2 separate regions of the Homo sapiens genome follow, and region 2 is linked to region 1. The links are contacts of gene promoters, found by promoter capture Hi-C in human tissues and cell types (Jung and others, 2019). All regions are on one chromosome and are shown on one strand. Each heading gives the region's core, a stretch centred on a gene start or on the middle of the fragment in contact. The rest is flanking DNA. Distances are from core to core; before and after follow the strand shown.

What was found. The method cuts DNA at HindIII sites, captures the fragments that hold promoters and counts their contacts. A contact is called where the count stands out against the background at its distance.
Region 2: a contact is called between a fragment that was not itself captured here and the fragment with the promoter of GK2 in region 1, in 1 of the 25 tissues and cell types used here (liver).

Annotation. Positions count from the first base shown.
Region 1 is chr4:79,405,246-79,411,555 of GRCh38, reverse strand. It overlaps GK2 (glycerol kinase 2), which reads left to right and starts at 3,328. Exons shown (of 1, transcript NM_033214.3): 1 at 3,328-5,195. The coding sequence starts at 3,356. The coding sequence ends at 5,017. The HindIII fragment of the contact is 12,605 bases long and covers 1,901-6,310 here.
Region 2 is chr4:79,036,499-79,042,808 of GRCh38, reverse strand. All of the region lies in intron 2 of LINC01088 (long intergenic non-protein coding RNA 1088), which reads right to left. Among named protein-coding and RNA genes, the nearest start is that of LINC01088, 68 kb to the right of the region's middle. The HindIII fragment of the contact is 7,883 bases long and covers 32-6,310 here.

The DNA.
Region 1 (6,310 bases), core at 2,079-4,578:
GATAAGTACGTTAAGCTGGTACTGTTCTTAACTTAAAGGTTATAATAAGGGCAGTAAGAATGTTTGATGCACCACTATATCATGGCTTATAATGAAATCCATAGATAGCAACCTCTCAAAACATATTCACCATGTTACTGATTGAATGAGTAAATTTTAAATGTTACAATGTGAACACTACTTAAAACCTTCAATACTAAGTAGCTGCACTTTAGAAGAGTAGCCTTAAAGGTAAATGAATAATATACAAAGTCAAGTATGTTAACAACTCTATTTTTAACAATCCCATAATAAAAGACTTTTTGAAGAAAATCCCCTCATATATTTTTGTTGTTTGAACTATTCTGAATAGTATGTTCACCATTAAAGCATTTATGATTTTGTGGAATATAATACAAATGAAATAACAATTTTCTTGTAAAATTGAATGCCTTCACAAATAAGGTAGTGCCAACAAAGATTTCAGAAGTGCTTAAATCCTACATTAGAATATAAAGAAGCTATTATAGACAACAAAAATTTTAGTTGGTTTTGTTTTGTTTTGTTTTTGAAATAAAGAAGATAGTGGACTTCATTTAAGCTCCTTAGTTTTCGTTTGCTTGTTTTAAATACTGTTTATCAGCTTTGGTTAAACCCATCAGTAGTTTGCAATTACTCTAAGGAAGTTATTGCAATTTGGTAAACTTTCTAAACTATATTGGGACACTTATTATCTGATTATTTAGTGGCTACAATTTATTATCAGTGAAACTACTATGTAAGCCAGTTCTTTATAAGCAGAACTGACGATTTTATAAATAAGGTATTTGTATTAAAGACAAAATACTTAAAGTATTCCCAGACTCAAAACCTAATGGAATTAGGAACATTTGTTTGTAAATATTGGTGTGAACGGAGAGAGGGAATGTAGAAAAGAAGCTCTGGGTCAAATCTTTTTATTGCGTACATTAATCTATACACACAATGTTTACTCTTGCCAAATACCTGGAGAGAAAAAAGTTAAAACAATGTAAATATAAATTTGTTCCATGAAAATGCAGACATGTTATGGTTAACTGGAATACGGGTAAATGTTGCCTCTACAATTTTGCTTGGAAAAGCTTTGATAGAATTTTAGAAACAAAGACACAACCAGGAAAATCTGATCCAGTTTTTAATAATTTCTATACCTTACTTCGCAAATTAAGTCTCAATGTTCTTTCTTTCTCAGACTTCATAGTATTTCCTGAAGGGTTTTTGCTTAAATAAAAAATACGACCCAGATAAAATAGTGAAATAACAATATCACAGTTAATTTTTATGTTATTTTCTATCTTGTTCTATTTGGTTTTACTAAACACAAATGGGCCTTATCCTTGAGCTAATTCAGAAATGTAGCCTATGCCCTAATACAAAAAATTGCCATTCATTGACTGCATATTCAATATATTTTAATTAATGATTAAATAAGTCTTTATTCACCGACTCTATAGTTAATCTGAAAATTTAAGTTTCCATTTAGTGGAATTCCACTCTGGCCAAGATGTAGTAAAAAGGATTGGAGTTACCTTTTCATCTAAAACAATCAAAAATGGAAAAAATAGATGAAATAGTTCACATAATGTGCAAAATATAAAACAACAGTTCACAAAATGCTGGATATCACGGAATGAAAGGCAGTAATTTCTAAGAGATTAAAAACAAGTGACATGACTACTATGATTTCCCCAGCTTAGTTTCTTGAGAGAGTTTTGAAGCAACAGCACAGACAGGGAACCCAATTGAAACTCAGTGGAAACCTATGGCAAGGAGATTAGGCTGAGAGCCTAGAGAAACCAAAGAAGCTAGACTCTGCCAGGCATAGCACTGGAGAAAAAAGAGTTGCATAGAGAGAGAACTCCAGAGAGCTTTAGAGGGTCCCCCAGTGAGTATTCAGTTGGGTATTGATCAGTGCATGTATAGGAGAAAACTACTGAGGCTAACGAAAGATGCACCTGGAAAGACTAGAGATAACAGTATCCAGTGGTCACTCAGGGCTGGGAGGAATTACTGTTCCAAACAGCCTCATTTGTCAGGGGTGTTGGGTAGAGTACATAGAAAGATCTCTTCACAGTAAAGAGGAAGAATTAGCCCCAGACTGAGTACTATCCTTGTGCCATCTAAGAAATCTTAAAAGCAGACGCAAAAGAATTGAACTGTTTCCAAGTAATTTATCTGCATCCCAAAACAAAACTCAAGACCATTTATAGGGATACAAAAATATCAAGCACCCAGTCAGGTAAAAGTCACAATGTTTGGCATCTAATTAAAACTTATCAGGCATGCAAAGAAACAGGAAATACAAGCCATAATGAGGAGATAAGCAATCAATCAAAACCGAACCAGAACTGACACAGAGGTTAGAATTGCAGAAAATGAAATTAAAAGTTATTCTAACTGTATTCCATGTGTTCAGAAAGTTAAGTAGATATTAAAAAACCCAAATTGAGCTTCTAGGGATGAACACTACAATATGTGAGGTGAAAAATGTACTGGATGAATTAATAGCAGAGCAGACATTGGAGAAGAAAAGATTAGTGAACTTGAAGAGAGAGCAACAGAAACTATCTGAAATCAAGGACAAGGAGAAAAGGTAATTATAATGAGTAGGGCATCAATGGAGTCCCTAAGGGATAGAAGAGACAGAATAAAACACATTTGAAGAAATAATGGGCCCAAAGCTTTTCAAAGTCGATGAAACCTGTAAACCTACAGATTCAAGTAGCTCAGTAAACCCCAAGCAAAGAAAATAAGAAAACTATTCCAAGACACTTCATGATAAAACTGGGCAAAACCACTGATAAAGAGCAAAACCCTAAAGATAGAGAAAAATAGACATGTTAAAAATAATAGCAAAGTTCCACCTGAAACAGCAAGAGAGACGATGGTAGAGCAACAGCTCCAAGGTCCTGAAACTTAAAAAGAAAAAATATGTCAAATAGAATTCTATACCCCGAGAAAATACCTTTGAATATTACTATGAAATATATTTCAGATGTTCAAATTTGGAAGAATTCATCTCCAGCAGACCTGCACTATTAAGAAGGAAAATGATAACGTAGAGATATAGATCCACACAAAAGAGTGAACGCCGGTAACTGTAATTACATGGATAAATATATGATTTAAAAAAAAAAATTAAATCTTAGAAGACAACTGAGTGGCTGGAGGTGAAGCCTGGGCTGGAGGGGTGGGGTGAGAAGGCGCCGCGCCAGTTAAAGGGCAAAGGTTGCCTTGCGCCTGCGCCTTGTGCTCCTGACTGGCTGCGCTCCCTGCCCCCAACACCGCCGTGGCCTGGGAAACGGTCCCAGAGCTGCTGAGCCGACCTACTGGTGTCATGGCAGCCCCAAAGACAGCAGCTGTGGGGCCGTTGGTGGGAGCGGTGGTCCAGGGCACCAACTCCACTCGCTTTCTGGTTTTCAATTCAAAAACAGCGGAACTACTTAGTCATCACAAAGTGGAATTAACACAAGAGTTCCCAAAAGAAGGATGGGTGGAACAAGACCCTAAAGAAATTCTTCAGTCTGTCTACGAGTGTATAGCGAGAACGTGTGAGAAACTTGACGAACTGAATATTGATATATCCAACATAAAAGCTGTTGGTGTCAGCAATCAGAGGGAAACCACTGTAATCTGGGACAAGTTAACAGGAGAGCCTCTCTACAATGCTGTGGTGTGGCTTGATCTAAGAACCCAGACTACTGTTGAGGATCTTAGTAAAAAAATTCCAGGAAATAGTAACTTCGTCAAGTCTAAGACAGGCCTTCCACTCAGCACTTACTTCAGTGCAGTAAAACTTCGTTGGATGCTTGACAATGTGAGAAACGTCCAAAAGGCTGTTGAAGAAGGTAGAGCTCTTTTTGGTACCATTGATTCATGGCTTATCTGGAGTTTGACAGGAGGAGTTAATGGAGGCGTGCATTGTACAGATGTAACAAATGCAAGTAGGACAATGCTTTTTAATATCCATTCTTTGGAATGGGATAAAGAGCTCTGTGACTTTTTTGAAATTCCAATGGACCTTCTTCCAAATGTCTTCAGTTCTTCTGAGATCTATGGCCTAATTAAAACTGGAGCCCTGGAAGGTGTGCCAATATCTGGGTGTTTGGGGGACCAATGTGCTGCATTAGTAGGACAAATGTGCTTCCAGGAGGGACAAGCCAAAAACACCTATGGAACAGGTTGCTTCTTACTGTGTAATACGGGTCGTAAATGTGTGTTTTCTGAACATGGCCTTTTGACCACAGTAGCTTACAAACTAGGCAGAGAGAAGCCAGCATATTATGCACTGGAAGGTTCTGTTGCTATAGCAGGTGCTGTTATTCGTTGGCTAAGAGACAATCTTGGAATTATAGAGACCTCAGGAGACATTGAAAGACTTGCTAAAGAAGTAGGAACTTCTTATGGCTGTTACTTTGTCCCAGCCTTTTCAGGGTTATATGCACCTTATTGGGAGCCCAGTGCAAGAGGGATACTCTGTGGCCTCACTCAGTTTACCAATAAATGTCATATTGCTTTTGCTGCATTAGAAGCTGTTTGTTTCCAAACCCGAGAGATTTTGGAAGCCATGAACCGTGACTGTGGAATTCCACTTCGTCATTTGCAGGTAGATGGAGGAATGACCAACAACAAAGTTCTTATGCAGCTACAAGCAGATATTCTTCATATTCCAGTAATAAAACCCTTTATGCCTGAAACAACTGCACTAGGAGCTGCCATGGCAGCAGGGGCTGCAGAGGGAGTAAGCGTTTGGAGCCTTGAACCCCAGGCTTTGTCAGTTCTCAGGATGGAACGATTTGAACCACAGATCCAGGCCACAGAAAGTGAAATTCGTTATGCCACATGGAAGAAAGCCGTAATGAAGTCAATGGGTTGGGTTACCAGTCAGTCTCCTGAAGGTGGTGATCCTTCTATCTTCTCTAGTCTGCCTTTGGGATTTTTTATAGTGAGTAGCATGGTAATGCTAATTGGAGCAAGATATATCTCGGGTGTGCCATAATAATACCAGCTATGGAGTCCCAAGATGTAAACATTTTACATAATGAAAGCATATAGCAGTTCTGCCTCTTAATATAATGACACTATTATAGACTCTGATTTTGTTTATAAACCACTTGCTACATGACCCATGAAAACCCTAGACTTGTGACCTGAAATAAAGAAAATACGTTAGAAGAGCACTGTAGAAATATTGGGTGTGTTTTTTTTAACATCGACAGGGTTGGGCCAGCCATCTTGAAGGCTGGCCCCCTCCATTGCCATAACATTCTGCCCCATTCTTTCTAAAACATAGGCTATTCAGATTCTATTCATGGAATCTTTTTATCAACTATCCTCTAACACTTATGGACCCAGATTTGGTTCTTTGTGTTACACACACTTGATTAAGAGGTGTAATTAATCTGCTAAAATTAAGGGACTTTTTGTCATTGTTATTCTTGTTTTTAATAGGCTACAAGTCCTCCTTTCTACATATTAGAGAGACTACATCTTAACTGAATGTTTAATGGAAATATTTGCTAAATTCTTACAATAGAAATTTAGTATTCTCATAGCTTAGATATTTTCCTGAAAAATATTTGCCAAATTGAAATTTATTAGACAATTTACATGGTCTCATTAATTACTATTTTACTGAATTATTGTGTGAATCCTAGAGGGACAGGGACACTATTTCCCTTTTTTATATCATGTCTATATCATATAGAGTAGCTCATTTATAAGTTGAAAGTACATTGTAGTCAGTAGATTATAACATGGATGGTCCTAAATACTTTAAGGTAAACAGCTATATACATTTTGGGGAATGTGTATACATATTATTTATCAGGAGAAACCTACAAAGGCAGTATTTAAAAGTTAAATATGTTTTATGCTGCTACAAAAAGTATATTATGATTGCACCAAATTTCTTATAACTTACTCTTTTATTTAATATATTAGCTGGATATATGCTGGGAAAAAACACTGGAATATTTCAGAAAATATTGCTTTCAAGTAGGAAAAAACAAATGACTGTTCAAACAAAAATAATAATATAGTATGAAATGCAAGCATGTCTAAAAGAAAACAATAGCAAAGAAGAGGATAAATGAAGGTGTAGTAGTTTGAGACTCATATACTGTGTGGAAAATGATGTATCACTTGAAGTTATAGTGATAATGAAAGATATATACTATAAATCCTGAAATAACAAAATGTTATATTAAAAATATGCACTAGAACTACTAAAATATTCAATTCTAAAGAAGATACAAAACAGATGAGGAACAAAGAAAAGGTAGGAAAATAT
Region 2 (6,310 bases), core at 2,724-5,223, 370 kb after region 1:
AATCTTGAATTAGTTTATGCGTCTTGACTTACATTTGAATTTTTATTTTACATATTAGCAAACTGAGGTCCCAAAAGACTGAATGGTGCAGGATCACCCAACAGAGTGGCACCGTGGGGACCAGGACTCATGTTCCCTGGCTTCCCAGTCACTGTTTGTCCCGCAATACCATTCTAATGATCTGTCATCCAATTTCAGGTGATATTTATAATGCATAAAATGAGAAGCTGATATTGACTTTAATATCAAATCCTGGAAATGCTACTAATGCTTTTTCTTTTTCCCCATCTCCAGATAAAAACTACTGCCTGTTAAGTTCTGCCTCACACCTAGGTAAATTAATCAGCTGCCCACATTGTATAATAAGAGTGCCTACTCTTCTGAGTGGATTTTCCCAACACCCTGTGAGAGGCAGGAAGAATTCTCCCATTTCATAGATAATTTGGCCAAGGCTACATGGGAAATAATTTGCAGAGCCTGGACTCAGATTCAGGCCTTCTCAATGATGAGGGCTTTTTCCACTACCCTACAGCTCCCTCTGGTGCTGAAATTAACAGTGGGAACTATTAAAAATGACTATGAAAAACTATTTTAAAGATGTATCCCAGTAAATTGAGCTAGAAAATACAGTAGAATAAAATATCTTATTCAGAGTAGCAATCTATACAAAATGCCTATGAATAACCATGACAAAAATATGTATGGAACTTATCTGACTAAAAATAGACTACTGAAAAAAATGTAAAATAAGATCTGACTAAATGAAGAAACACAAAATACTTAAATATGTCGATTTTTTCCAATGTAACATTTTGGAAGAAGGTAGATAACATTATTCTAAAATTTCTCTGGATGAAAAATCAACACACACACAAAGATATTTTGGAAAAAAAATTAATGAAGGAGCACTCAGTCTATCAAATATAAAAATGAAATTTAAAACCTCAGTATTTGAAACTAGTCAAGAACCTGTGTAAAAATTAACAATTGGAAAACTATTACCTATTTGAAAAAATTAAATTTATCCAATTTAATTTTGAATGCTCATTTTACAAGGTGCACCAAAATGTATTTTAGATAAAGAGTTAAATATTTTGGGTTTTTTAAATACTATAAAATAGGAAGAAAATAAAGATAAATATTTAACTTATGTAACTGTTTTATCAATATAAAACCAGTAGAAAATGAGAAAAAATAGATTTTACTACATTAAAATTTAAAATGTCTATTCAAAACATCACAAACTACAAAAATTAGAGATGCAAATCACACACACATGCAAAAAATGTTCTATCTCACTAGCATTCAAAAACATTGATTAAAATAACATAAAATTTTTATCTACTGAATTAACAAGATTGTTTTAGATAATAATAATCAAGACTCTAGTGAGACAGATGCTATCATACTTTTGATGGGAGAATAAGTATTTCATTATTTTAAAAAATATGATCTTATGCCCCTGAATTTGTATTTCTAGAAATTTAGCCTAAGGAAATGACCAGAGATGTTTTTAAATATAAATGTGTACAGAAATATTATTTATAAGAGCCCAAGAGGGGAAATAATCTAAGTAAAAATAGAGGTACTCTTTTTTTTTTTTTTTGAGACAGAGTCTCACTCTGTTGCCCAGGCTGGAGTGCAGTGGTGAGATCTCAGCTCACTGCAACCTCTGCCTCCCGGGTTCAAGCGATTCTCCTACCTCAGCCTCGTGAGTAGCTGGGATTACAGGCGCCCCCTACCACACCCAGCTAATTTTTGTATTTTTAGTAGAGACAGGGTTTTGCCATTTGGCCAAGCTGGTCTCGAACTCCTAACCTCAGGTGATCCACCCACCTCGGCCTCCCAAAATGCTGGGATTACAGGCGTGAGCCACTGCGCCTGGCCAAAATAGAGGGATTTTTAAATCGGACACAACCATATGATAAAGTAACACAAAAACATAAAAATCATGTTTGTCTGAACTTTTATTTAGGTTTGGGGATGCACATGCAGGTATATTATATAGGTAAATTGTGTGTCATGGGAGCTGGGTGTACAGATTATTTTGGCACCCAGGTAATAAGCATAGTACCAAATAGGTAGTTTTTCAATCCTCACACTCCTCACTCTCTCCAACCTTAAGCAGGCCCCGGTGTCTGTTCTTTGTGTCCATATGTACTCAATGTTTAGCTCCCACTTATAAGTGGGAACATGCAGTATTTTGTTTTCTGTTCTTGTGTTAGTTTGCTTAGGATAATGGCCCCCAGCTCCATCCATGTTGCTGCAAAAGACATGTTCTCATTCTTTTTTATGGCTGCACAGTATTCCATGGTGTGTATATAACACATTTTCTTTATCCAGTCTACCATTGATGGGCATTTAGGTTAATTCTATGTTTTTACTATTGTGAATAATGCTGTAATGAACATATGCATGCATGTGTTTCCATGGCAGAACAATTTATATTCCTTTGGGTATATATTCAGCAATGGGATTACTGTGTCAAATGGTAATTCTGTTTTGAGTTCTTTGAGAAATCACTAAACTGCTTTCCACAATGGCTGAGCTAATTTACATTCCTACCAACAGTATATAAGCATACATTGTTCTCAGCAACCTTGCCAGAATCTGTTGTTTTTTGACTTTTAATAATAGCCACTCTGACTGGTGTGAGATGGCATCTCATTGTGGTTTTGATTTGCATTTCTCTAATGATTAGTGATGTTGAGCATAAAAATCATATTTTGAAGGAAATTTAATAATGTGGGGAAATGCTCATTCATAAAAAGAGAGAGAGAGAGAGAGAAACATTGTGGGACCAAAGTTATAAAGACTGAAATAGCAATGGGAATGACGAGACAGGGATGAATGGGAGAACAATTTAAGATTTAGAGGAATGGGATAGGATCCTGTTACTAAAAGCATGTGTGGAAATAGGGGTGAGCACTGGATTATGCCCAGGATATCTGCTCAGGTTTTGGGTGAGTAGGGGAGGCCATTGCCAAACTAGGTAATACACATGAAAAGGTCGAAACTTGACCTGACTCTCTCCAATATCAATATAAGCAGTCTGCTTAATACCCATCTTTCTTAATCCCATTGGATTTTGGTCCCCACTACCACCACAGGAGCATTTTAGGTATTAGGAAAGCTCACTATGTCTTGCCTCTTTCTGACATAGCAGACCATGCAGTCTACTGACATTGAAATTATGTTCAATGTAAAACTGCAGCTACATGGAGATGCAGAGAGATATCCACGTTATTGCTGCACTGAAAGCTCAAGTTGGGGGTGTTCTAAAAGGTTTAGGAATCAAGAAGAATGTACAAAAGATAAGCTTGCCAAAAACACCAAATAATTACTAAACCTCTACAGCGCACATAGCACTCAACTGGATAGCGAGAGGAGTATAACTATGTGAGAAACTGTGTTTATGCTTCAATAGATTTTGCCAATAAAAGTCTTGAGAATATGAGGAATAGCTTGAAAGAGAGATATATTTTTATAATCTACATAACTTCTTTAATTAAGCAAAATAAGTATATTAATAAGAACTTAGTGTAGTATTTACCAGGTTTAATAGTCAGATTGGATAATCCATGTGCATGTAATTAAAACTAGATCTAGAAAGTGTGTGACAGCTTGTGTGCAGTATCCATGATCATAACCTCCTCCAAATTTCTCCAAATTATAACTAATTTCAATTTAACCATATTGCATAAATTTTACACTTATGACTCAGTGATAATATTAATCCTTCTTCCCCCAAAGAACATATTTGTAGGCTAGAGAATGGTTCCTTTCTGCATACTATTAAGATATTTGGTTCCACTAAGGTTAAAAATTTTTCCATGAAAATTTTGGACTCAAGTATTCCTATAACTGTTCCCTTTTTAAAGTTTCCCTTTCACAGGAATAATAATAGTTCTAATATTGAGGCAGCAAAACTTAGTGAAATGAATTACAGCATGAAAGCTAACCATACCTACATTTCAATCTCAAATCTGCGTTCATGGGCAAGACTTTAACTTCTCTGATGCTCAGTCTCATATCTATTAATAGTGCAAAATTGTACCTTTCCCTAATTTGAGGGAAAAAAATAACTTGCCAGAGTTGCTGTAAGGACTAAAGATATTGTAAATCATCACCATTAAAATAATTTACTATTCTATGTATTTTCTCTCTATCATGTCATTTAATTCCCAGAACAATCCTATTCTTTTCCCCATTTTAAAAATTAGGAAATCAAGGCACAGAAAGGTCAAACAAGTTGGCCAAGGTCATACACCTAGCAGCAGAGCTGAGATTCAAACCTGCATAGTCTGACTCCAGAGACTTGGTGCTCCATCACTACACCAGCCTACTTCATAAGAGCATCCTTCAAATGGAAGTTGTTAGAAATAATAACTATTGTTGCTGTTATTGTAGTTGTTATGACTTGCATCGACAGTGCTGCTTGTCAAAGAGCTCCTTACCAGTTCCTGTTCTCACAAGCAACATTGTTTTATATTTGTTTTCATCTCAGAACCAGAATATCATAAATATGTGTGCATTTGTTAACAGTAACTCCTTAAATGGTTAAAAGTCTTACAAATATAAATCCGGAAGCTATCACACCTTATAGTTCAAGGTAAAAAGGAATGGCTGATGTAAATTATGTCAGTGCACCGTCAACATAAACCATCAGGACACTATATATTACTGAGCAACCTCCACTCTGTACATATATCTTGATACAAGCAATACTTTTGACACCAATCACTTCTCCAGATAAAATACAGTTTGTAGGGGAATAATTTCAGCAGTACATAAAATGGCACTGTCCCACAAAAGAAACATTTATTTTCATACAAAAAATATATGTTTACAGTGTTGAGTAATACAGTCACCAAACACAAAATAAATGCAGTTCTTTACTTCTCCCCAAATTGCTATATTTTGTCTCATTTTTCCAACCTAAATAATAATTTCTTACCCACAACAGAAAGTGATTGTTGAGATTCAGTCCTTATCAAATATTTAGATAACTAAATATTTCCTCTATGCTCTTTTTTATTTTGGGATTCAGGAGAATTTCTTCAGCAAAGTAAAACATCATTCTAAACAATACATGTGATGCTACTTGTTAACAACAGAAAAACTATTTCAGTATATAGCACATACCTCTCCCCCACTCACCTTATCTCACAAGTCTTGCATTGATAACGGGTATCTACTATCTGTTGTCTTATCTAAAAAGGCGTTTTCATGATCACTGCATTTAACATATTCTGTGGCCAACATTAAGGTTGTTGTGTTTTTATCTAGTATAACACTCAGCACGTGGCATATTTCAGACTTCTAAGAATGCCACACACCATAAAGGCATAGATTATTACCATCCAACTACAACCAAGAGAAAACACCTGGTGGTACGAATCAGAAAATGGCTTTCAAAAATAGAAAATGAAATTTGCATATTTTAAAATCTTAATTTGGTTCCTTTAAAGTTAAAAAAAAACTCCATGAGAAATTCAGACTTTTAGGTATTCTTATAGTGTACCCTGCTTTTATGTTTCCCTTAAAAAGGAAAAGCAACTCTCATCCGGAAGCAGCACAAGTTACTGAAATACATCAGGTCTGGGAGCCAATCAGACCTAGTTCAACAATCAAATCTGTCAGTAATTTTCTTAACTTTATACCATACGCTATATTGATGGAGCTGGAAGCAAACCACAAGTAACCCTTTGATTTTATCAGTCCGTTTCTCTGAAAAAGTTTTAAATCAAAGTGTTAGGCCTACTCCAGTATTTCCATACCTCTCCTATTCTAAGAGCACATGGATAGGTAAAGCCAAATCAAATAAACTCTGACCATAAACCATTTTGCTATGATTTACAGTAACAATCACAATTATGTATTTGAAGTCATTGAATATTAAGAGAAGCATAGGCCAGCAAAAGGAAATGTATTTTTAATCTTTATCAAAAACAGAAGATGTTCTCAGCCTTAATCCTTTAGGTTTGGCCTAGAAATAAGAATTCATATTGACTCCACAGTTTTCTCAGAAAAAGAAAATTATCAGCATTGGAACATAAAATTATTATATAATCCAACCACTATGAGAGGCAAAGAGTGGATTGGAAAAGAGGGGAATTACATACTTCCAGATATCCTATAAGAAAACAGTTACAATGTCAGACTTTATGACTAATTTATGGTGCATACATATTTGAAATAACTACTAACTTTTTTAAGAAAGAGCTTTGGACCACACCACTTGTTGTATAATAAGGAATTTGACTGGTCTTTGTTCCTTGTTCCTGGGATTAAGACTCTAAATCCTTGG